Linked DNA regions of Homo sapiens: regions 1, 2, 3, 4, 5 and 7 are each linked to region 6. The links are contacts of gene promoters, found by promoter capture Hi-C in blood cells and fetal thymus (Javierre and others, 2016). All regions are on one chromosome and are shown on one strand. Each heading gives the region's core, a stretch centred on a gene start or on the middle of the fragment in contact. The rest is flanking DNA. Distances are from core to core; before and after follow the strand shown. Region 1 has its middle 65 kb from the start of FOXN2. Region 2 overlaps FOXN2 (forkhead box N2). Region 3 overlaps FOXN2 (forkhead box N2). Region 4 has its middle 110 kb from the start of FOXN2. Region 5 has its middle 55 kb from the start of PPP1R21. Region 6 holds the start of FBXO11 (F-box protein 11). Region 7 overlaps FOXN2 (forkhead box N2).

Evidence for each region. The method cuts DNA at HindIII sites, captures the fragments that hold promoters and counts their contacts. A CHiCAGO score of 5 or more calls a contact.
Region 1: a fragment that was not itself captured here is called in contact with the fragment with the promoter of FBXO11 in region 6 in 3 of 17 cell types (monocytes, neutrophils and M2 macrophages); the score reaches 5.2 in monocytes.
Region 2: a fragment that was not itself captured here is called in contact with the fragment with the promoter of FBXO11 in region 6 in 16 of 17 cell types (activated CD4 T cells, naive CD4 T cells, total CD4 T cells and 13 more); the score reaches 18.9 in activated CD4 T cells.
Region 3: a fragment that was not itself captured here is called in contact with the fragment with the promoter of FBXO11 in region 6 in 15 of 17 cell types (total CD4 T cells, activated CD4 T cells, total CD8 T cells and 12 more); the score reaches 19.0 in total CD4 T cells.
Region 4: a contact is called between a fragment that was not itself captured here and the fragment with the promoter of FBXO11 in region 6, in 2 of 17 cell types (M1 macrophages and M0 macrophages). The highest score is 5.9, in M1 macrophages.
Region 5: a fragment that was not itself captured here is called in contact with the fragment with the promoter of FBXO11 in region 6 in 4 of 17 cell types (naive CD8 T cells, total CD4 T cells, M2 macrophages and 1 more); the score reaches 5.7 in naive CD8 T cells.
Region 7: a contact is called between a fragment that was not itself captured here and the fragment with the promoter of FBXO11 in region 6, in 14 of 17 cell types (naive CD4 T cells, naive CD8 T cells, total CD8 T cells and 11 more). The highest score is 16.3, in naive CD4 T cells.

Annotation. Positions count from the first base shown.
Region 1 is chr2:48,247,898-48,251,359 of GRCh38, forward strand. No RefSeq gene overlaps it. Among named protein-coding and RNA genes, the nearest start is that of FOXN2, 65 kb to the right of the region's middle. The HindIII fragment of the contact is 6,486 bases long and covers 1-3,462 here.
Region 2 is chr2:48,337,089-48,340,650 of GRCh38, forward strand. The region is part of intron 2 of FOXN2 (forkhead box N2); the gene reads left to right. Among named protein-coding and RNA genes, the nearest start is that of FOXN2, 24 kb to the left of the region's middle. The HindIII fragment of the contact is 2,843 bases long and covers 892-3,562 here.
Region 3 is chr2:48,321,844-48,325,166 of GRCh38, forward strand. The region is part of intron 1 of FOXN2 (forkhead box N2); the gene reads left to right. Among named protein-coding and RNA genes, the nearest start is that of FOXN2, 8.8 kb to the left of the region's middle. The HindIII fragment of the contact is 1,158 bases long and covers 714-1,871 here.
Region 4 is chr2:48,205,575-48,209,162 of GRCh38, forward strand. No RefSeq gene overlaps it. Among named protein-coding and RNA genes, the nearest start is that of FOXN2, 110 kb to the right of the region's middle. The HindIII fragment of the contact is 898 bases long and covers 1,442-2,339 here.
Region 5 is chr2:48,383,669-48,387,044 of GRCh38, forward strand. No RefSeq gene overlaps it. Among named protein-coding and RNA genes, the nearest start is that of PPP1R21, 55 kb to the right of the region's middle. The HindIII fragment of the contact is 6,804 bases long and covers 1-3,376 here.
Region 6 is chr2:47,905,248-47,908,543 of GRCh38, forward strand. It overlaps FBXO11 (F-box protein 11), which reads right to left and starts at 1,251. Exons shown (of 23, transcript NM_001190274.2): 1 at 242-1,251. The coding sequence starts at 473. LOC100506235 (a long non-coding RNA gene) reads left to right here and starts at 303. Exons shown (of 2, transcript NR_187636.1): 1 at 303-552; 2 at 2,071-2,920. RefSeq lists silencers at 24-73, 84-203, 564-753, 1,244-1,343 and an enhancer at 1,413-2,197. The HindIII fragment of the contact is 3,894 bases long and covers 1-2,356 here.
Region 7 is chr2:48,356,941-48,360,376 of GRCh38, forward strand. It overlaps FOXN2 (forkhead box N2), which reads left to right. Exons shown (of 7, transcript NM_002158.4): 4 at 2,107-2,207. Among named protein-coding and RNA genes, the nearest start is that of FOXN2, 44 kb to the left of the region's middle. The HindIII fragment of the contact is 3,537 bases long and covers 81-3,436 here.

The sequences.
Region 1 (3,462 bases), core at 1-2,500, 340 kb after region 6:
CCCAGCAATTTTGAAAGCACCCAATTCCCTATTTTAAATGCTCTTCTGCCTATTTTAATAGCAGAGTGGTTTGTTTCCTGAACTGATACAATTGATAATAAAAATTTTCAAACAGAAACTGCAAACCTATTTTAGAATCATTAAAGTAATTCATTTTATTTGTATCTATCCTATACACTGAATGCTACTAAAATGAGTGTTAAGTGGTTTAAAAATGGAGAACTATCTAGGAGATTCTCTTCTGTTTGTACTAACTACTGGCACATTTAAAAAAATTACACATCAGCCTGGGCACGATGGCTCACACCTGTAATCCCAGCACTTTGGGTGGTCGAGGCAAGTGGGTCACTTGAGGACAGGAGTTCAAGACCAACCTGAGCAACATGGTGAAACCCCTGTCTCTACTAAAAATACGAAAATTAGCTGGGTGTGGTGGCATGTGCCTGTAGTCCCAGCTACTCGGAGGCTGAGGTGGGAGAATCACTTGAACCCTGGAGGCGGAATTTGCAGTGAGCCAAGATCATGCCACTGCACTCTAGCCTGGGTGACAGAGTGAGACCTTGTCTCAAATACAAAACAAAACAAACAAACAGAAACAAACAAACAAAAAACACACATCAAGTCATGGGCAGCATGTTTAACTTTATTTTTAAAGTTTATCCAGAATATAGAATGACTGAATGAGTAGCTATTAAGGATTATTTTCTATAAAGTAATATTTTTACTTAAAAAACTGACAAAAATGAACATGACTGGCAGAAGAACAGTGGCTTACTCTACTCTCTAAGAAATGCCTGGTGACATCAGTTAAAAGGTATGCCAGAGACTAACAGCTGGGTCACTCCAAGTTTCACTCTCTTTGACTCAGCATCCTGAAATGACTCTCAACAGGCTGGGAAAGCCATTAAAACAGCTCCTGGCCCATAGCAATAACAGGCTTTTTACCTTTCAATCCTGGTGATCCTCTGGGAGCTGATGACAATTCTGAATTTTGTCTCTTTTTACACTGTTTGCAATGTGAATTTGACAGTGAGTAAATGAATAAAAGGGAGTGAAACGTGGGAAATTTATCCTTTGAGTACCACTGAGCACTTGGTATTATATTTGCTTCTGAGGCAGCTTTTCATATTTACAGTTAATCCAGTGACATTTTTGGCTGTGCTTTTAGAAGAGAAAAATTGATGGCTAAGAGGGCAAATGACTGAGAAGTCACAGCCCTCTCTGCAAATGCAGACACGCAAATTTACAATTTTCTGGCAGACGACAAACAGCAACAAACATTCAAGCCTACATTTTCAGAGGTTTACTCTGTATTAACCAGGTCACCATACAGTGCAGAATAAGATAGAATTGCTTTGACTCTCAGGCCTTTTAAAGACTGGTTGGAGCCTTCTAATGCTTGACCATATGTGAATTATCCACTTGGTGGATTACTTGAAATTCAGCCAGCATAACCCCAAGTGAACTGCTCTGCCTAAGTTATATTTAGAAAACCACTCACTTATTTAAACATTAGACTACTCAAAAATTTATGGGCTGAATATATCCAAGATAAAGTATATAACTATATATATATAAACATTTCTAAAAGTAAAAGGATTTTTTTTTTGGTCCCCCAAAGTTTTGGAATTAAAATTATTTAGAGCTGGCAGGGTCCTTAAGACATTTTGTCCAAGAGTTTCATTTTATAGCTGAGAAAACAGACACGATGAGGTTTACTGACTTGCCAAGCAAAACAGTTCATTGTTAAATTAACATTTTTAAATCACAGCTTCCCTTCCATTATCCTGCACATAAGGAAGTTTTTGGAAATATTTTTAGAATTGTCTGTGATATGGAGGAAATAATCCAAGGCCACACCAAAGCTCCCTAAGAACAGAGTTGGACTCCACGGGTGATGGGCTGATATGCTGGGGTATGCAGTTGCGGGAAGAGCCTGCCAGGTGTTCCTTCACTTGTCCTTGTTAGCCCACACTACAAGAAGTCCTCAGAACCTGTCCTCACTTTCTTTTTATTTTGTTTTATAACTCACTCAGACTGCTTAATTGTCCTTATGCTATCTCTTTTCTGCAAGTAAACCTCAGTTGCCTTCTGTGAACTATGGAATTTTAGGGAGGAGTTGGACCCATGAGTACGGAGAGGCAACCCCACACACTAACAGAAAGTAAGCACCAGGGCTGCTGGAGAAGAGAGGAGAGTACAGTTCACAGTGTATATTTAATGCTGCTGAGCAGCTGGGCATCAGGGATTGTGAGACTTTACACCCCAGAAGTTGCTCAATAGTGGTCTGTGGGGCTCTGCTAGAAACCAGCAAGGGAGCCAGCAGAGAAAAGGGAGTGCAGCCGGTGAACAAATCCCAGAAGCTCATCTCAGGACTGCTGGCTACCTTTCAGGCTAATGACCTATAGCTGAGGGCTTGCATCTATTTGCAGATGTACTTAGATTTTAAAAGGAAGTCTGTACCACCTGATACACATTAGCATGGCTGCTATTTTTTTAAAAAAGAAAAAACAGAAAATAATTATTAGTGAGGACGTGGAGAAATTGTAGCCTTTGTGCACTGTTGTAGGAATGTAAAATAGTGCAGCCACTATAGAAAACAGTATGGCAGTTCCTCAAAAAATTAAAAATTGAACTATCATATAGTCAAGCTATTCTAATTCTTGATATACACCTAAAAGAATTGAAAGCAGGGACTTCAGCCTGGGCAACATGGCAAAACCCTGTCTCTACAAAAAATACAAACTTTAGCCGGGTGTGGTGGCATGCACTTGTAGTCCCAGCTATTTGGGAGGCTGAGGTAGGATGATTGCTTGAGTCCAGGAGGTCGAGGCTGCAGCGAACTGAGATCATGCCACTGCACTTCGTCCTGGGTGACAGAGTGAGACCCTGTCTCAGAAAAAAAAAAAAAAAAGAAAGAAAGAAAAGAAAAGCAGGGACTTGAACATATATTGGCACACTCATGTTCATAGCAATATTATTTACAATAGCCAAAAAGTGAAAACAACTTGTGTGCATTGACAGATAAACGTTTAAGCAAAATATGTACACACAATGAAGTATTATTCAGCCTTAAAAATGGATGAAATTCTGATACATGCTACCAAGTGGATGAACCTTGAAGACATTATGCCAGTCACAAAAAGACACGTATTTTATTATTCCACTGATAAAACGTACCTATAGTCAAAATCATAGATAGAAAGTTAAATCATAGTTTCCAGGGGCTGGGGAAAGGGGGAAATGAAGAGTTATTGCTTAACAGGTACAGAGTTTCAGTTTTGCAAGATGAAAAGTGTTCTGGTGGTGGATGGTTGCACAACAATGTGAATGTACTTAATACCACTGAGCTACACAGTTAAAAATAATTGGGGGGAGGGGGAAGGGATAGCTTTAGGAGATATACCTAATGCTAAATGACGAGTTAATGGGTGCAGCACACCAGCATGGCACATGTATACA
Region 2 (3,562 bases), core at 1,063-3,562, 430 kb after region 6:
ACCTCCCTCCCACTAATCCTCCACTACCTTTCCCAGCCTCTAGTAACTATCCTTCTACTCTTAGACGTTCATGATTTCAATTCATTTGATTTTTAGATTCTATGAATAAGTGAGAACATGCGACGTTTGTCTTTCTGTGTCTGGCTTATTTCACTTAACATGATCTCCAGTTCCATCCATGTTGTTGCATATGATTGGATCTCTTTTTTTTTTTTTTTTAAAGTGAGACGGAGTTGTCTCCCTTTGTTGCTTAGGCTGGTGTGTAGTGGTGTGATCTCAGCTCGCTGTAACCTCCACTTCCCGGGTTCAAGCAATTCTCTTGCCTCATCCTCCCAAAGTAGCTGGGACCACAGGTGCACACCACCATGCCCCACTAATTTTTGTGGGGTTTTTTTTTGGTACAGATGGGGTTTCACCATGTTGGCCAGGCTGGTTTTGAACTCCTGATCTCAAATGACCCGCCCACCTCTGCCTCCCAAAGTGCTGGGATTACAGGTGTGAGCCACCACGCCTGGCCTGATCTCATTCTTTTTCGTGTGTATATGCACCACATCCATTTCTTTCGTTGATGGACACTTAGGCTGCTGCCTGACTAATATTAATGGAAAGAAAGCTAGTATATAATTTCAAATAGACTTAAAGACAAAAAGAATTGATACATAATGGGAAATGGCTAATTTGGCAGGAATATATATGTTTTAAAGTTACATGCAATTAATAACCATAGCCACAAAATAAAGCAAAAAATTAACAGATGTACAAGGAAAAAATTGAAAAGTTTTTCCAGTATAGCAGGAGATTGTAATATATCTGCCTTAGTATTTGATATAGAAAGCAGACCCCAAAAAAAGATTAGTAGGAATACAGAAAATTTAAACAGTGCGATTAACAAGCTTCATCCAATGGACATATATTTCATCCATGCACCATAGAAACATCAAATGAATCATTATGAAAATTAATCATGTACTGGGCCATGAAACAAGTTTCAACAAATTTCAGAGAATTGATACCCTATACACTGTTATAATACCAACTCAGTTAAGTTAGAAATAGGTAACACAAAAAAACTTCCTTTATCACATGGAAACTAAAAAAAGTTTTCTCGATATCTCATCGATCAGAGAAGAAATGCTGGAAGTTGGCCTGTTCTTTAGTAGGAGATGTTAAATCATACCTCAGGTTTGCTTGCAGCAAACAAAAAACTGAGAAATGGCCCAGATAAAAGGCCTTGCATTCTTAACAGGTGAGAGTGTGCAGGGATGCTAAGGACTGATGGTGGATAGGTTCTCCTAACAGGAAGGATGCCATTTTTTTTTTTTTGAGACGGAATCTCGGAATCTTGCTCTGTCGCCCAGGCTGGAGTGCAGTGGCGCGATCTCAGCTCACTACAAGCTCCGCCTCCTGGGTTCACGCCATTCTCCTGCCTCAGCCTCCCCAGCAGCCGGGACCACAGCCGCTCGCCACCAGGCCCAGCTAATTTTCTGTATTTTTAGTAGAGGGGGTTTCACCGTGCTAGTCAGGATGGTCTCAATCTCCTGACCTCATGATCCGCCCGCCTCTGCCTCCCAAAGTGCTGAGATTACAGGCATGAGCCACCGCGCCTGGCCTGAAATTTTTAATAAATGGTGCTGGAACAATTTTATGTTTATATGTGAAAGATGAAATTGGATAAAAAATACATGTATACATTTTTGGTGAGTTGAAGATTTAAATGTAAAAGGCAAAAATTATAAAACAAACTGTAGACCATAAAGAAAAGGGTTAATAAATTCTACCATATGAAAGTAAAGAAATTTCTTACTAAAAGCAACCAATAAAGAGATTGAAAAGACAAGTCATCTACTGGGGAAAGATATTTGCATCACATATAAGTTATTAGTATCCAAACATTACAAATCATTAAGAAAACCCATAAAAAAATGGGCACAAGGCTTCAATAGATACTTTATGGAAGAATAAATCCAAATGGCATATGTATAGATATATATTCATAGCTATATGTTCATATATATCTATACATTCATATTCTATATATCCATATACAGATATATATGAATGAATAAAAAGGTCTTCTGCCCTGTTACTAGCCTGGGAAATGCAAATTAAAACTGCAAGGAGATGCAGTTTCAGAGTTGATATGGTCTGGCTCTGAGTCCCCACCCAGATCTCATCTTTAATTGTAATCCGAATTGTAATCCCCAAGTGTTGAGAAGGGGCCTTGTGGGAGGTGATTAGATCATGGGGGTGGTCCCTTCAAGCTGTTCTTGTGATAGTGAGTTCTCACAAGATCTGGTGGTTTTATAAGGGGCTTTTCCCCAGTTTGCTCAGCACTTCTCTCTCCTGCCACCATGTGAAGAAGGACATTTTTGCTTCCCCTTCTGCCATGATTGTAAGTTTCCTGAGGCCTCCCCAGCCATGCAAAACTATGAGCCAATTAAACCTCTTTCCATTATAAGTTACCCAGTCTCGGATATGTCCCTCTAGCAGTGTAGAAACGGACTAATACAGTAGTCATCAGATTGGCAAAAACAATTTTGGCAAGTACATGAAGCATTTGGTATATACACTCCTGGTTAGTGGTAACTGATTCAGCATTTTTTGGTAAGCAGTTTGTCATCAATTAAAGTTGAAGGCTATTCTGTGACCAAATAATTCTACTTCTTGACATATGTTCAACTTTTAGATGTATACTCAAGAGAAATTTCTGACACTTGTATACCAGGTGATATGAACAAAGACTTCTATAACAGTAGTACTTGTAATAGCCCCAAACATAAACAATTAAATGTTCCTTAAAAGTATAAGAAATTATTGAATATTCATAAAATGGAATACTAGTCTCTGTAAAAATGAATTACTGCTACAATAATGTTAATGAATTCGATGGGGGAAAAAACAAGTCTCAGAATGTCTTCCATATAATTTAATTTTATGTGATGTTTAAATGTGGAAGGCTAAGTAATGTTTAAGGATTCTAACATCTGGGAAAAGTATAAAGAAAAAACCTTTTGTTAACTCGGTCTTTAATCAGTTAAAAGTGTGGAAAAGTAAGTCAAAATTCTGATTGGTTAAATCAACATTTTGTGTTTAGTAGGTTTCTTAGTTATTTTGGGCAAAAATGGCTATCACTGTGACACATCTAATTCTCTGTAATGCAGCATATTATGTTTTAGGTAATGCTGAAAATTCTGTGGCTTTGTTTCCCTTTTCTTATGTAGTCTCTGAAGCATTTCTCTCTTACCAATGTTAATACCAACCTAAGCAAAAATGCTCTCCTATGACCTTTTGGGAAATGATCAGAGAATTCCAATACATAATTTTATATTTCTTATCCTAGAGTAGGATATCACTATAACATTGAACGTAATATGCAGATGTGCAAATCTCTGTTAGACACCTTAGGAGATGCATGAGCTGCACAACTGTGAAAAAAAAAATAGTACATTTAAATCCGAAGCCTTCTTCTCAAGATACCGCCATGGCAGGCACACAGTCAAGCTCTAGATGGGTTCCAGAGTGATTGTACTGGGTTGGTTTGAACTCTCCACTTTTATTTTTA
Region 3 (3,323 bases), core at 43-2,542, 420 kb after region 6:
AAAATACATTTCTTATTGTGGGATAACATTGAAAGTGAGAACTACAGGTCTAGTGGCTGAGATAGAACTGTAAGCAAATAATTATACATAATTAGAATAGCAAGTAAGTTCCTTTTTTATTTTGAGATGGAGTCTTGCTTTGTTGCCCAGCCTGGAGCACAGTGGCGTGATCTCGGCTTATTGCAATCTCCGCCTTCGAGGTTCAAGCAATTCTTTCTCAGCCCCTGGAGTAGCTGGGACTACAGGAATGTGCCACCACGCCTAGCTAATTTTTTTGTATTTTTAGTAGAGATGGGGTTTCACCGTGTTGGCCAGGCTGGTCTCGAACTCCTGACCTCAGGTGATCTGCCTGCCCCGGTCTCCCAAAGTGCTGGTATTACAGGTGTGAGCCACTGTGCCTGGGCTAGAGGTAGATTTAAATTAATAGCAGCAGTTTATTTTCCTAAATTCTTTTTTTTTTAATTGTAAAGTGAAACAAATGCAGAAAACCACACAAAACAAATGTGTAACTTAGTGAATTATAAGGCTAGCACCTGTGTAACCCTGTCCTTTAAAAAGTAACCACTGTCCTGGGTTTTCTGAAAATGAATTAAGTTTTTGGTTTTATTACTCAAGTATGTGTCCCTAGATGCTATAGTTAAGCCTGTTTTCTTGCTCATGCTCACGCTCACGCGGATTCTTGCACTCCCCCCTCCTTTTTTTCTTTTTCATTAAGCTTGCTTTCTTTACACCTTCTGTTTCTCTAAGATTTTATCCAATACATTTTTTTCGTAATCCTTTAAGTCTTCATTTCTGAAATGATTTTTTCCCTTTTATTTTAAATTCTTTCTTGAGCTCTATCACCTCATGTCTGAGCTTTTCTAATTCTGATATATTTGATATATATATAATACAATATATATTTCTGATATATTTGATATATATAATACAATATATATATCTGATATAGGTATTTCTCATAATTTTTTTAAGTTTACTTTGAAATAGGAGTTCATTTTTATCTCTTTGAGCATCTCTTTCAGACTTGCTTTTATTGTTTATAGGGATGTTATTTTATTGTTTCTTTTTTTTTTTAGTTGTAACTTTGTGTGGGATTCAATCTCTTAAAAGTATGAATGCTTTCATTTATACTGTGCTAGGAATAAGATGCATGTAAGTAAATAATTGCATTATGAGACATATTCTTCTAAACATACATTCAAGGGTATTATGAGAACACAGAGTAGGAGCTTACTTTCCCCAAAGTGTAGGGATTGGATGAGGTGGACTTTAGTCATGATGGAGGTTTTTTATTGGTGTATCAATATTTTTAAATATTCTGTTTTTTTTTTATAACTGATATATTTTTGAGGGTACATGTGATATTTTGGTACATGTTTACAACGTGTAATGATCAAATTAAGATAATTAGAATATCTGTCACCTGAAACGTCATGGTAGTTCTGATTTTAGTTTTTGAGGAAACTCGATACCGTTTTTCATAATGGCTGTTACTTTACATTCCCACCAACAGTGTATGCGCATTCCCCCTTTCTCCACATCCTTGCCAGCATTGTTAATTTTTGTCTTTTTGTTAAATAGCTCTTCTGACTGGTGTAAGATGGTATCTCATTGTAGTTTTAATTTGCATTTATCTGATGATTAGTGATGTTGAGCATTTTTTTCATGTTGGTTGGCTGCCTTTATGTCTTGAAAAGTTACTGATCATGCTCTTTGCCCGCTTTTTGATAGAGTTGTGTTTTTCTTGTTGAGTTGTTTGAGTGCCTTGTAGGTTCTGGATATTAGTCGTTTGTCACATGTATAGTTTGCAAATATTTTCTCCCATTCCACATGTGGGTTCTCTTTATTGATTATTTCTTTTACTGTGCAGAAGCTTTTTAGCTGATTAAGGTCTCATTTGTCTGTTTTTGGTTTTGTTGCAGTTGCTTTTGAGTTCTTAGTCATAAATTCTTGTTCAGGCCAATGTTCAGAAGAGTTTTTTCTCGGTTTTCTTCTAGAATTTTTATAGTATAGTTTCAGGTCTTACATTTAAGTCTTTTCTGTAGCTAATTTTTGTATATGGTGAGAGATGGGTCCAGTTTCATTCTTCTGCATATGGCTATCCAATTTAGTAGTGCTTTTTATACAAATGAATTTACTGTTGACTTCCTTCAATTACTACTTTGAAATACTGTTCAGATGGAATTAAAATAATATTTTAAAAATTTTCTTTTGCTATACTATTGTCATATGTCATCAACTATCTCTTAAGTAGAGACCTGAAATTTAGAAAGTGAAAAGGTCACAAAGTAGAATGGAAAACATAGTATAACGCATAGTATTCTGTACGTGAATGACAAATTGCTCAGTAATTTTTTTTTTTTTTTTTTGTGACAGAGTTTCGCTCTGTCTCCCAGGCCTGGAGTACAGTGGCACAATCTTGCTCACTGCAACCTCCTCCTCCTGGGTTCAAGTGAGTCTCCTGCCCCAGCCTCCCAAGTAGCTGGGATTACAGGCACCTACCACTTTGCCTGGCTAATTTTTGTATTTTTAGTAGAGACGGGTTTTGCCATTTTGGCCAGGCAGGTCTCGAACTCCTGACCTCAAGTGATTTGCCTGCCTTGGCCTCCCAAAGTGCTTGGACCAGTAAATATTTTAATGAATATCATATTTCATCCTTCAAATTTTTTTTTGTTTCATGTAGTTTGATTAAAATGACTTCTTTGTTTAGTTAAAACAAAACTTGATGTGGTATGATTTGGGTATAATTTTCCCTTTGTACTTCTATTCAAATTGGCAGCAAGTTAGAGCCAGGTTGTGCTTGCTTTTGAAGTACTCTGCTTAGGGATATTGAGTCCATTGTTTTCTATTTTCTTTCTTTGGTTAACGATACTTTTGACTTGGTGTGTATTAAGTATCTTATAAAATAACTTTAGTGTTTATGAAGTGATCTCATGTCTATTGTTTATTTTGGTCTCTTAACATAAATAACTACAGTAAAAAAGAGGAAATGTAAATGCAGTTGGAACACGGAGAGATTGAAAGACTCTAACAGAAAAAAGTTGGGGTGGGAATTATGTGGAGGAGTTGTCGTTAAATTAGGTCTTAAATATTAGGGTTTGACTGAATGATGAGAGGGAAGGTAGACAATCCAGTTGTTAGAATATCAAAAGCAAGCATATAGAGAAATGTATTTGAACAGGATTAGTATAGTTTGGACTGACTTCTAATACAGAAGCATTAGCTTGAGGATGTAGATACTGAATCAGTTATTGATTTTTGTTTGTTTGTTTGTTTTTGGTCTTTTGTACTTAAAAAGCAATCTAGGCAGGATGTCAGGCTAG
Region 4 (3,588 bases), core at 641-3,140, 300 kb after region 6:
ATATAGGGTGGACAGAAACAAAAAGACTCCAGTGTGCTTCGTGTAAGTCTATCTGGCTTTGGCCCTCTGCAGGACATTCTTGTTTGCTGCCTGCTGAAAGGGAAAGGAAAACTGACATTTGGTTCTCTCTCGAAGCAAAGCTCAAATCTCTTGGGGGTTAGATATGCTTCACAGGGCCATGGATTAAAGTTATGAGTATAGGTTCTATGCGAAACTGCACCTGTCCTACTGCCCAAGACCTCTTGGGCTACGGAAGGAACAGGAGGAGAAGGGAGACAAAAGGCAGTGAAGAAGAGAGAGAAAAGAGGGGGACCTTCCCTGACCCCAAAGAGGGAATGACATTTAAGTCACCCAATTTAATTCTGTTCAACGAATATTTGAATACTTTTTAGGAGGCAGGCTAGGATGTACCCAGATACAGAAACAAACACATGAATTTAAAAATCCACTATTTCTGCTTAGAATCAGAGAAAGTTAATACTGGAAAGGTCTTAAGTCATCCTGCTTTATATTATGGTCTTCTAATCAGAATAATAATTTTTTAACCCATAAGGGCATAGGTTAAAAAAAAGGAAAGAAAGAAACAGGAAATGAAAAGAACAAAAACTAGAAACACTGTCTCATTCCAAAAGAGTAATCTCAAATTCTGATATGATCATGGGACTGTTATGGGAATGTGTCATGATGTGTCACTGAGGGAAGACTCCTTGAGAATTACTGATCTAGTCTTGCAGAAGGACGAGCTGCTGACAAAAGTCCTCAAACACCAAGTTAAAGAAGGAAGGGGTTTATTTGGCTGGGGGCATCGGCAAGACTCCTGTCTCAAGAGCCGAGCTCCCCGAGTGAGCAATTCCTGTCCTTTTAAGGGCTCACAACTCTAAGGGGGTGCGGGTGAGAGGGTCGTGATCGACTGAGCAAGCAGGGGGTACGTGACTGGGGGCTGCATGCGCCGGTAATTAGATTGGAACAAAACAGGATAGGGATTTTCACAGTGCCTTTCTATACAATGTCTGTAATCTATAGATAACATAACCGATTAGGTCAGGGGTCGATCTTTAACTACCAGGCCCAGGGTGTGGCGCTAGGCTGTCTGCTTGTGGATTTCATTTCTGCCTTTTAGTTTTTACTTTTTCTTTCTTTGGAGGCAGAAATTGGGCATAAGACAATATGAGGGGTGGTCTCCTCACTTAGTCTCACCTAGGAACATAGAATAGAAGTTTAGGGAACAAAGTGGCAGGGCCAAGACCACTATGGCACTTAGCAGCAGAGAGAAGATTACAGCCCATGTCTTCTAATGCCCAACCCAGGACTCAGCCACTTGCACCACAGTGTTGCACCACTAAAGTTAACTGGGAAGATGCAAACCCCGAAAATCCTTAAATACATAATTGAGTATCTTAGATCTAGCTATCCTCACTGATATGTCGCCCATTCACTGCCAAGCTTTGGGCCCAACACTTACAGTCATCAGAGTTTGGATTTTGTTTGTAAACCAAAATTTCCCCTTCAGCTCTAAATGGAATTTTGCCTGGACCTGGGAGTCTTCAAAGGAATAGGAGGAAAAATTGTGGATAGAGTTAGATTGACAGCAAAGGGAAAAGAGGAAATCTTTCCTCTTAAGACCAAATCTGTGGTGCCTCAGCTTCTGTTCAGCGTGGAGGCAGGAGTGGCAGCTACCTAACTTGGTCTTTCGCATTCAAATATGCTACATTTAAATATGTTTGGGGGCTGACAGTGATAGGAAGACATTCCTATGGCCAAGTAGGACAGAGATCTGGGAGTGCTTCTATTTATGGAAGGTTTACTGGATGCATGTATCTGAAGGTAAAATGAACAATGCCTAGTCTGGATGGTCATTTGGGGTGAGATGGAAGGGAGATAAGAAAGGGATCAGGGAAAAATGAAAGTCATTCTGTGCATTGTGAGAGGTGCTAGCGGTCAGAAGTACTTTGCCATTCTCATTTGTCATCCAGTGCTGCTGACCCGCGCTTTGAAATGGCTTGGCTTCCCTAGAGATATTCTGAGCTGTAATTGCAGATTTCCATTTTAGTTTCTTGTTTTCTCACACTCTGCTCTAGACAATCAACTCAAAATCCTTCCTCAGGCAATGTGCAAAATGCCTTTGCAGAGTTGATGAAGGTTCTGTGGTGTGGCCCATGTGAATGTATCGATTTTTTTTTCTGCATGTAAATAGGAGTGGTTATGGCAAAGTGGTTATTAGCTACATTAGATCAATGATTTGGGCTGCTGGAGCTTGTTGACAAACCTTCTTTGATGATAACTTTTTTATAAATTATGTTAATTATGACTTTGCCTTGGACTGCAGGAATGGGACTGGAAGCTTTCTATTTTTTTCAGGCTTCAGTAGTAATTCTGCCTTCGTTTTTTTTTTTTTTTTTTTTTTTAACTTATGTTCCTGGCAATTAAGTGCTATCCCAAAACATAAAAACAATTTCCTCTTTTAAAAAATCATTATGCAAGAAGTGTCATGTAAAAGCTGCTGTTACTTAAAATACGATCTTGTAAAATAACTATAGCAAGTTCTCCTATTTATGAGACCAGCAAGGAGTTATTAAAAGTCGTAATAGAGAAAACTATCCTTATGGATTCTGTTTTCTTTTCTTTTTTTTCCCCTCATCATTCTGAAAAAAAAAAAGAAAAGAAAAGAAAAGAAAAGAAAAAAAGTGGAATCCTTCCCTGTGGGTTTTGGTTGTGTTTTTTTGAGACAGAGTCTCACCCTGTTGGCCAGGCTGGAGTGCAATGGCACAATACCTGCTCACTGCAAACTCTGCCTCCCGGGTTCAAGCGATTCTCCTGCCTCAGCCTCCTGAGTAGCTGGAATTACAGGCGCCCACCACCATGCCCGGCAAATTTTTGTATTTTTAGTAGAGACGGGGTTTTGTCATGTTGGCCAGGCTGGTCTCGAACCCCTGACCTTAGGTGATCCACCTGCCTCGGCCTCCCAAAGTGCTGGGATTACAGGCATGAGTCACCGCGCCTGGCCTGGATTATTTTTAACTGAAGAGGAGAAAAACAAACAAAAAGAAACAAATGTTTTGATAAGTTTGACTATGGTTGTTAAAATATGACCTATAGAAAAAATAGAAATAAAAGAATTATCACATGTTCTCCCCACACAATGAACAGTGAGCTTTCAGGGTTTACCTGCTTGAAGCTCCAGCTGTGGCTCTCAGCACATCTGCACCCTCAGCTAAGTGTCCTGATGCATCACCCTGCAGGTGTGCCCTGCTACCCATCCAGACTTCACCCTCCCAGGCTCTTGCCATCACTTTACTTCAGCTAGTCAGGATTAACTCTTCCTCCCTATGGGAAACAATACTGACCTTGGAGTCAGACTGACCTGGTTTAAATCTATTAGGTAGAACTAAATAAAATTGCTGTTTTTAATACACCAATGATGGTTAAATATTGGCAATTTCATGCCACTCAACCTAACACCACCTTCTCATTATCATGTTCTCTAAGATAAGATATTTTAAATGCTTTACTTATTCCATGACACAAGTTAGTCACCATTTGCTGTAGACATGCTATGAATTATAAGAGGCTGCAGTGGCATTTCATTCC
Region 5 (3,376 bases), core at 154-2,653, 480 kb after region 6:
AACTTGTGTTAATAATAATGTATCAATAGCAGTTCATTAATTGTAACAAATGTATCATACTAGTATAAGAGGTTAGCAGCAGGGAAAACTGTGCAGGGCAGAGGGTATATGGAAAGTATCTGTATTATTTGCTCAATTTTTTTAACTCTAAAATGACTCTTTAAAAAGTCCAGTAAAAAAAAAAAAAAACTGAAAGCAAACTCCAAGTTCACATGGCTTCACATGAATTACATTTATTATTTAAGGAAGAAATAATACCATTATACCCAAACTCCTTAAAAGCAATAAAAAAAAAGAAGACAAGAAAATATTTCATAACTTGCTTTATGAGGCTATAGGTTTAGCATTAACCTAATATTAAAACTGAGTAAAGACATTACCTGCTGGGTGCAGTGGCTCATGCCTGTGATCCCAGCACTTTGGGAGGTCGAGGTGGGTGGATTACTTGAGGTCAGGAGTTCAAGACTAGCCTGACAAATATGGCGAAACCCCGTCTCTACTAAAAATACAAATATTAGCCGGGAGTGGTGGCACGTGCCTGTAATCCTAGGTACTTGGGAGGCTGAGGCAGGAGAATCATTTGAACCTGGGAGGCAGAGGCTGCAGTGAGCCGAGATCACACCACTGCACTCTAGCCTGGGTGATAGAGTGAGACAGTCTCACAGGAAAAAAAAAAGACATTACCAAAAAACTACAGACCAATATTCGTCAAGAATATAGACACAAAAATTCTTAACAAAATATCATCAAATAAAATTCAGTAGTGTAAAAAAGAGACAATAACCAATGGGGCCGGCCCTAGGAGTGCAAGTTGGTTCAATACTAAAAATCATCATTATAATTCATCATATCAACAGAGGCAAGAAGAAGAATGTTGGGAACAGGCCCCCAAAACTGGCCATAAACAAAATCTCTGCAGCACTGTGACATGTTCGTGATGGCCATGACGCCCACACTGAAGGTTGTGGGTTTACTGGAATGAGGGCAAGGAACACCTGGCCCATCCAGGGCACAAAACCACTTAAAGGAGTTCCTGAACCGCAAAGAACAGAATGAGCGATCTGTGCCTTAAGGACATGTTCCTGCTGCAGATAACTAGCCAGACCCATCCCTTTGTTTTGGCCCATCCCTTTATTTCCCCTAAGAAATGCTTTTAGTTAATCTATAGAAACAATGCTTATCACTGGCTTGCTGTCAATAAATATGTGGGCAAATCTTTGTTTGGGGCTCTCAGCTCTGAAGGCTGTGAGACCCCTGATTTCCCACTCCACATGCTATATTTCTGTGTGTGTGTCTTTAATTCCTCTAGTGCTGCTGGGTTAGGGTCTCCCTGACTGAGCTGGTCTCGGCAAGTGGCGCCCATACGTAGGGCTCGAACCCAGGTTGAAGGGTCGCCAGAGCGACAGTTGGAGAACGTGAAACTAAGCTGGAGGACACTCGAGTACTCTTAAAGCAATTCCTGTGGTGAGTAAGAAGGGGAGCTCGGAAGCATCAAGGGGAGCTCGGAAGCATCAGGGTAACAATGGGACAAGTGTGGGCTCTGGTTCGTTCCACCTTGGAACCTTTTCACACTGATGATGAGGAGGAAGGAGAGTATAACGAAGTAACAGAGCAGGTTTGTTTGCCAGCTAAAGCTAAAGTGGCAAAGGAGGGAGAGGTTCATCCCTACCCTTCTGCACCCCCTCCTTATTTTGAAGAAAAAGAGTGGCCTGACCCTCCAGATCTTTCTTTTCCAGAGGACACTGGGCGAAAAGTAGTTGCCCCAGTGACTGTTCGAGCAGCACCTTGAGCGACCACTCTCAGTTCTACTCAGGCAGGAATCCAGCAAGCTAGAAGAGAGGGTGATTTAGAGGTTTGGCAGTTCCCTGTTAGAATACACCCCCCAGATCAACAGGGAAATATTAAAGCTACATTTGAGCCTTTTCCTTTTAAATTAGCTCGGTTACAGGAGTCTCTTAAAAAGGTGATTGCAGGCAGCATGGGGGCTCAGTGGCTCACGCCCCTAATCCCAGCACTTTGGGAGGCCGAGATGGGCGGATCACGAGGTCAGGAGATCAAGACCATCCTGGCTAACATGGTGAAAGCCCATCTCTACTAAAAATCCAAAAAAATTAGCCGGATGTGGTGGCAGGCGCCTGTAGTCCCAGCTACTGGGGAGGCTGAGACAGGAGAATGGTGTGAAACCAGGAGCTTGCAGTGAGCTGGGATCATGCCACTGCACTCCAGCCTGGGGAACAGAGTGAGACTCCGTCTCAAAAAAATAAAATAAAAAAAAGGTGATTGTAGATTTGGCTGCTCAGGATATAGTGTTGCGGTTATTAGCTTTCGACAATGCTAATCCTGATTGCCAGGCTGCTGTGTGACCTATTAGACGGAAAGCACATTTAGTTGATTATATCAAGGCCTGTGACGGTAGCGGAGGTAATCTGCATAAGGCCACTCTGCTAGCCCAGGCAATGGCAGGACTGAGAGTGGACAAAGGAAATACTCCATTTCCTGGAGCTTGTTTTAACTGTGGGAAGCATGGTCATGCTAAAAAAGAATGTAGAAAAAATCAGCAAGTCAGGCCACCAGATAGGGGAAAAAAGAAAACTGCTGAGCCTGAAATATGTCCAAAATGTAAAAAAGGAAAACATTGGGCTAGTCAGTGTCATTCTAAGTTTGATAAAGAAGGGAACCTGATTTTGGGAAATGCCATGAGGGGCCCGTCCCATGCCCTGTTCCAAACCGGGGCATTTCCGGCTCAGGCCATTTCCTCACCCCTGTACAATGTCTGTCCCCTGACACAGCCGGTAGTGCTGCAGTAGATTTATGCTACACAAAAGCAGTGAGCCTTCTGCCTGGGGAACCCCCACAAAAGGTCCCACCAGGAGTCTGTGGACCCTTGCCAGTGGGGACGATAGGATTACTTCTAGGAAGGTCTAGTTTGAATTTAAAAGGAGTACAAATACATACAGGAGTCATTTATTCAGATTACAATGGGGAAATTCAAATTGTGATATCTACTTCTGTTCCCTGGAAAGCAGAGCCAGGAGAGCGCATAGCACAGCTCCTGATTGTGCCATATGTGGGAATGGGGAAAAGTGAAATTAAATGAACAGGAGGATTTGGAAGCACAAATAAACAAGGCAAAGCAGCTTACTGGGTAAATCAAATTACTGATAAACGTCCTACCTGTGAAATAACTATTTATGGAAAGAAATTTAAAGGTTTGGTAGATACAGGAGCAGACATTTCAATCATTTCTCTACAGCACTGGCTGTCCACGTGGCCAATTCAATCCACTCAATGTAATATGGTTGGAGTTGGTAAAGCCCCTGAAGTATATCAAAGTAGTTATATTTTGTGTTGTGAAAGTCCCGATGGACAATCTGGG
Region 6 (3,296 bases), core at 1-2,500:
AAACCAAACAAAGCGCGGCCTGAGCGAGAGCCCAGGCGAGAAGGGAAGCCGCGGCTTTTCCTGCCGGCCGGGCCCGGCCCGGGCTGACACTGCGGCACCGGGGGACCCGCCTCCGCTCAGCTTGGGTCTCCCACCCCCAGGGCGCGCAGGCCGCCCCCGCCCGCCCGCCCGCCCGCCCGCCCCGGCCTCCCTTCCCGCGGTGCCCGGGAAGGCGGGCGGTTGGGAGGTAGCGCGGCCTTACCCCGCTCGCCGACGTTGTTCCGCTCCTGAGGCAGCGGCGGAGGCGGCGGTGGCGGCGGCGGAGGCTGCTGCTGCTGCTGCTGCTGCGGCGGCGGCGGAGGCTGCTGCTGGGGCGGCTGCTGCTGGGGCGGCTGCGGCGGCGGCTGCTGCGGGGGCTGCTGCTGCTGTTGCTGCACCGGGCGCGGCCGCGACACTCGCCTGGGTCTCCGGTTGGCGGCTCGGACGGAGTTCATTTGCCGGGCTGAGGTGGCGGCGTTGGCGGAGGGACACACACACGCACACGCACAGCGAGCTTCGGGGCAGGAGAAAGGGGTGGGGAGAGTGGGAGAGGGGGGAGGAAGGAGAGGGGGCGAGGGGAAGGGGAGACGCTGAGGGCGGAGGGGGCGAGCGGGACCCCGAGTCCGGAGAAAGGCCCGGGTAGACAGACGGAGACCGAGCGAGGCCGGCCGGGAGGGCCTGACGCACGGGGAAGGCCGAAGCCGCCGGGCGGGGCGGCCGCGAGGGACGAAGGCAGAAAGACGGGCAGACCGAGAGAAAGAAAGAAAGGGCGTCCGCCGCTTGGGGATCCCGAGGCGAAGCGCGGCGGCGGCGGCGGCGGCGGCTGAAGAGACAGATCCCGGTCCCGCCGACTCGCGAGCGGCGTCTCCGGCAGCGGGGGGAGTGGGCGGGCGGGTGAGGAAGGGAGAAAAAGAGAGGGAGAGAAGGGAGGGAGGGAGCAGGGGGCGCCCGGCTCTTTTTTTTCCCTCTTCCTCCCCCCCACACCCCCTGAAAGAGATTTCTGTGAGGAATTTTTCTCTCTTTCTTCGGTCTCTTCTCTCTCCTCCCCCCCTTCTCTCCTCGGCGAAGGGGAAATGAGTGTGAAGGGAGGAGATAGGGGGAAAAAGAGGCGTCGTCCTTCCTCCTCCTTAAAGGAACCTTTCCTCCTCCTCCTCGTCAGCCCTGTCGCCGCTGCTTCTGCTGCTGCTCCGTGGCAGGAGGAGCCATTGACACCGCCGGAGCCTCCACTCGCCCAGTCGGTCCCTCCCCGCCGCGGGGCTGGCCGGGGGCGCGGGGGAGGGCCGCGGGGCGGCGGGGGGAGGGGTGGGTGGGCGGGGAAAGGAGGGGCGGGGATTCCGTCCAGGCGGCCAATCTAAGGCGCCCGTACAACCTTCCGGCCAATGGGGCCTCCGCTCTTATCGCGAAGTCCCTTCAACGCCCTGTTTCCTCTCTCGGGTTTCCTCCCTCCCCCGCCTAGGAGGGGGAAAGAGGAAAGGGGGAGTGTGGCGGGGCGGGTGATAATGGGGAGGTATCAGGGCAAATAATAGAGCAGGGGGTGGGCGAAGAGAGCGCCAGTGCGTAGCGACGATTCTGGGAGAGGAGGTGCTCGGAGGAAAGGGCGGGGGTTGCTGATGTAATGGGGAGAAGTGATTAATCCTTCGGTTCGCCGTTTCAGCTTCCCCCCTACCCCAACCTTCACCCGATTTTTTTGAGCTGAAAAAAAAGTGGAACGAGGGAGCCAATCTTTGGTAACTCGGGTTTTCTGTGGTAGGTGGGTTCAAAATCTGAGCTGTAGGGAGCGCTAGAGATTTCGTGCCCTTTAGCCAAGCTGAGGGTATTTGCAAACCCTGAAGATTTCCGTCTCCGAGCTTTGGGCTTGGTAAGCGAAGTTTGGAGTCGGTGCCTAATCGTATATCATCTAAACCTTGAAAAGGCTTTGACCTTTGGCCAATTTGATTTGTTCTTTGAAGAAGTGTATACAATGTGTGGGAAAATAATATGTGAGAGGAGAGAAGTAAATGTGTTGATGTTGTGATTGTTTATGTGATTTAATTTTTAATTTTTTTTTTTTAGGTCCCACAAACTGCAAGGAAAAGAAAAACCCTCAACAGGAATTACCTTTATACCTGATGCCCCCAACATAATCTCTCTCCAAGGGAAACGTGTTTTTATTGCCTTGCGGCTGAAAATGTATTCTCGATTCTCCCCCTTCTCTCTTTTGTTGTGCATTTTTTGGATGTGGTAAAACTGGCAGTTTATCTGATTATCTGGTTTTCAGAACTTTGGGCGATGTCTCTGAGTGTCATCAGTTGCTCTCTAGGTTTGACATAGATAATTAAGCAACTACAAAGCGTGATAAAGCTTTTGAGAGGGAGGAAAATGTATTTTGGAAGGAGGGAGAGACGCAAAGAGGCGAGCCTGTGTGTTGAGTCCCAGACTTGGTGTGTGACTACAGGCAAAGTACTTCACCTTTCTAGATGTCAGCCCCGCCCCCCTCACCTCCCAAGTTTAAATAAGAACTTATTTTAGACTACATGATCCTGTTTTCAATTTTTAAGAGTTCTGTGATTTTGAGATGATCTCTCTTTAGTCCAGAAAAATAGAGAAACGTAGGTCTATGTTTGTTTCTCAAAAAAATATTTGAGGAGGACAGCTGTTACAAAACAGCTGGAGAACTCCAAATTTTTATGGTGGTTAGCTAGGTGCAAATGGGTACAATTTTAGGTTTGTTCAAATAAACATAGGGGAAAAGTAAAAGTACAGGAAAATTACGTTATACATATAAGTGTGTCCATCATTTCTGATTTTTCTAAAAATTTACTTTTTTATTTGACAAGTACTTTTTGGCTCCTTCCGTGTATGCATTAATATGTATATAAGGTGTTATGGGAAATACTAATAAAAGGAAAATATTGGGCATAAAGAGTTTGTATTTTGGTGTGGCAGAGTGGAAGTTTTACTTACATTAATTCAGATGTAAAGAAAATGTAGCTTGTTTATTTTCTGTAATTTTAACTTCAAGTCCCCACATCATCTCAATTTTTTAAAAAACATAACTGCTTTCACCTTTTATTTCCCCAACTCTCCTTCTAATATATTAATGGGAGGGGCGGGGTTTAGGGTTGTTATATGTGGTATAAGGGGTATCTTTTACATACCCTAGATTTCTAAGTTTATTGCAACAATTCTCTGACATATGGCAGTAAAATGCCTTGTTTTAGCAAAATTAGTATATTATGACAATTTCCTGATAGATGGTAGTAAAGTGTCTTGAGAAAGGAAGCACCTTTTTCAAATTC
Region 7 (3,436 bases), core at 599-3,098, 450 kb after region 6:
GCTATTTTGTTATAGGCAAATTTAGTTTTAAACAGTTATTATTTGTATTCTCTCATCTAAGCCCAATAATATAGGACCAAAGCTTTTAAGTGGAAAATTAGTTACAAATAAGTTTCTTTTTGCTGTAGACTTTAAAATGTAGATTAGCAAATACAGAGTTTTATCTCTTGTTCATGATAGTTCATGAACAGACCCAGTGAAAGGAAGTGCTGCCATGGTAACGTAAACCAGACTGTTACTTGAGACCATACTCAAGATACTTAACTGCCCTGAAACTGCACGTTTTCAATACCAGTTTTTCCAATTTGCTATTTCAAGGAAATAGCAACTCTACTGTGATCAAAACAATTTGCAGTCCCCTCACAATAGAATTTGAAAAGTAGACTTGAACTAAACAATTTCTAGGAGCGTAATCTCAGGAATTCCAAGGTAGAGCATGGCTAGCATTATTAAAATAATTGTCTTGGTCTGTGTATGAAAAGTAATGCTGCGTATCTTTTCTATATGAAACTGAATTGGCTTTGGGGCAAAAGATGTTGTAGGTGCTAACATTTTAATTCTTCCTTTTTTTTTTTTTGAGACAGCGTTTCACTCTGTCACCCAGGCTGGCCTCAGCCTCCTGAATAGCTGAGACTATAGGCGCGCACCACCACACCAGGCTAATTTTTTCTATTTTTGTAGAGACAGAGTTTTGCTATGTTGCTTAAGCTGCTCTTGAACTCCTGAGCACAAGCAATCACCTTCGCCGGCTTCCCAAAGTGCTAGGATTACAGACGTGAGCCACCGCACCTGGCCTGGTGCTAACATTTTTTTCCTTGTCATCAAAACACATTTATCATTTGGTCCAGGTGACTGAACATATAGCTAAGTTAAGAAGTTTCATTTAATCCAAAAATACATTTGTAAAACTTGTCTTTTATTGAAAAAAAAAAAAAAAAAAAGAAAATGTCAAATACTTTTTTAGTATAGTTAATGTGATATCTTGCTGCTAAACACCAGGAAAATGTTTCTCCTGATAATCCAGTGCATTTCTTTCTTTATGATAGTGTGATATGACAACCATGGTTTTTCTATTTATATAAATTGCCAGCATAGTAAAAAACTGCCTTACACTCAATTGCTACACCTTTTCACAGGCAAAAGGTTTTATTCTCTCCTAAATTAATTTTATCCCGTTTTTTTTTACCACCTAACTTTTGCCTTTTATTCAGAACTAATGTATTTTTTTCTTATTGTCGTTTTTTTTTCAAAATTCCCTCCTCGGTGGAAAGTAAAGGAGTAGGAACATACTATTATTCAACCAACATGCAGCAACCCTTACGTACGTCAGTTTCAGAATGGCCCCTTAATATTCACCTATTTTGCAGCTATGTCTCTTGCATATAAATCCTCTTATTTGAATCTCATTACAATTCAGTGAAGTGGCCTGCATTGTTGTTTTACTTTACGGGTAAAATGTAAATGAGAAGTCTGACTCTCAAAAATTAAATGATTTGCCCAATATCACATAGCCAGTCAATAAGTAGTGATCGGGACCTTGGTTTTTGAACCTATAGAACGGTGTTCTTTCATTTTGCCATTCTGCTATAAAAATTATGAAATGATATTCAGAGATAAAAGAGCGTCAATAATAGACTAGTAGTACCTTGAAAAAGAGTGTGGGAAATGGAAGGACTCTGGAGATCATCACATTAAATCTTAATAGCAATCATAATAGCTTATATCATAGAAGATTTGATACACGCAAAAAGGAGTATGAGAATGGGAAACAAGTAAATTTTGTTGTTATCTAAATAATTGTTAATGTAGTCGTAAAGGTAATTCAAATTTTAAGAAAGAGTTTTTGAAGTAGAAAAGGCATAATATAAAACCAGAAGCTAATAACATTTGAACCTCACTAATCTTGTGAATTAGAGGAAGTTTTGTACATCATAGGATGAATCCCTTTTAGTCACTACAGTGCACACATAGCAAGCTCACTTCAACCTTAGTTTCATACTCAAAAGGTGCTAGAGATTATTTACCCCTGCACATTTATTTAAAACATTTAGACGCTGACTGTTTATGTATAAAAGTTCCTAGTTATTCTTGTGCATTTTATTCTAGGTTAATGGAAAAGGTTCCTTATGGTGTGTTGATCCGGAATATAAACCCAATCTTATCCAGGCACTGAAGAAGCAACCTTTTTCTTCAGCATCTTCACAAAAGTAAGGATCTTCCATATAACTGTCAGTGGTGATTTATAGGATTTCACTGTGTGAGATGGAGAAACTTAAAGGTCCAGGGTATTATGTTTCTGTTTTATTGTATAAAGAAGTATTTATGTTTTATTTAGTTTTTAGTTTTTAGTTTTTGTTTTTGTTTTGTTTTGTGGACACAGTCTTACTCTGTCACCTAGGCTGGAGTGCAGTAGCGAGATCTCGGCTCACTGCAACCTCCCTCTCCTGGGTTCAGGTGATCCTCCCACCTCGGCCTCCCTAGTAGCTAGGACTACAGGCAAGCACCACCACTCCCAGCTAATCTTTGTCTTTTTAGTAGAGACACGGTTTCACCATGTTGGCCTGGGTGGTCTCTAACTCCTGACTTCAAGTGATCCTCCCACCTCTGCCTCCCAAAGTGCTGGGATTACAGGCGTGAGCCACCATCCTCGGCCTGTTTTTTCTTTTCTTTTCTTTTCTTTTCTTTTTTTAAGAAGTATTTATGGATAAGACATTAGCCTAAGTTAGTTTTCCTTATGGTCTAATTTGTGTTTCTAGAATACAGGAAATTGGTGACTTGAGAACATACACTCTGGGAAATATAGTCAATACTGAGTATAAGTAAACCCTAAAGAAAGTTGTAATATAATTTCAGTTACAAACAGGTCAGATCATTTTAATTGTCTGCAATACTAATGCTAACCTAAAAATGAAGGAAATTAAAAATACATTTAAAATTTTTTAACAAGATTATTAAGTTTGTCATTATAACATTTTATATACATATGTAGGTTTCTTTTTCTGTTTTAGGTTTTTTTCGTAGTACTTAATATTTGAAAAGTATGTTCAAGTCTAAAATTTTTAAATGTTTGGCAAATAAAATAATGCTTTGAACTTTGTTTTTATTTTTTCTGGTAAATATAGTTGTACTGTATTTGCTTATAATTTTCCTTGTCTTTGTTTTCAATCCCAGTAACCCCTGTTGATCTTCTAGCTTCCTCATTTTAAGTTAAATCGGAAAATAATATGACCTTCTTAAATCTGATTTTTGTTTCCTTTTTCTAAAGAAGACTTTAGAGTCTTCTCCAATTTATTATATACCTTCATTTGAATTGAAAATCCCAGATTTGGTTAAAATACTTTAAGGGTAGTTTATAATGGCTAACTTGTTTTTTGAAAAATTTAAAAAGATTTTTAATAAAGTAATAAATGGAAATTTTTAAACATGGAAAAAAGTA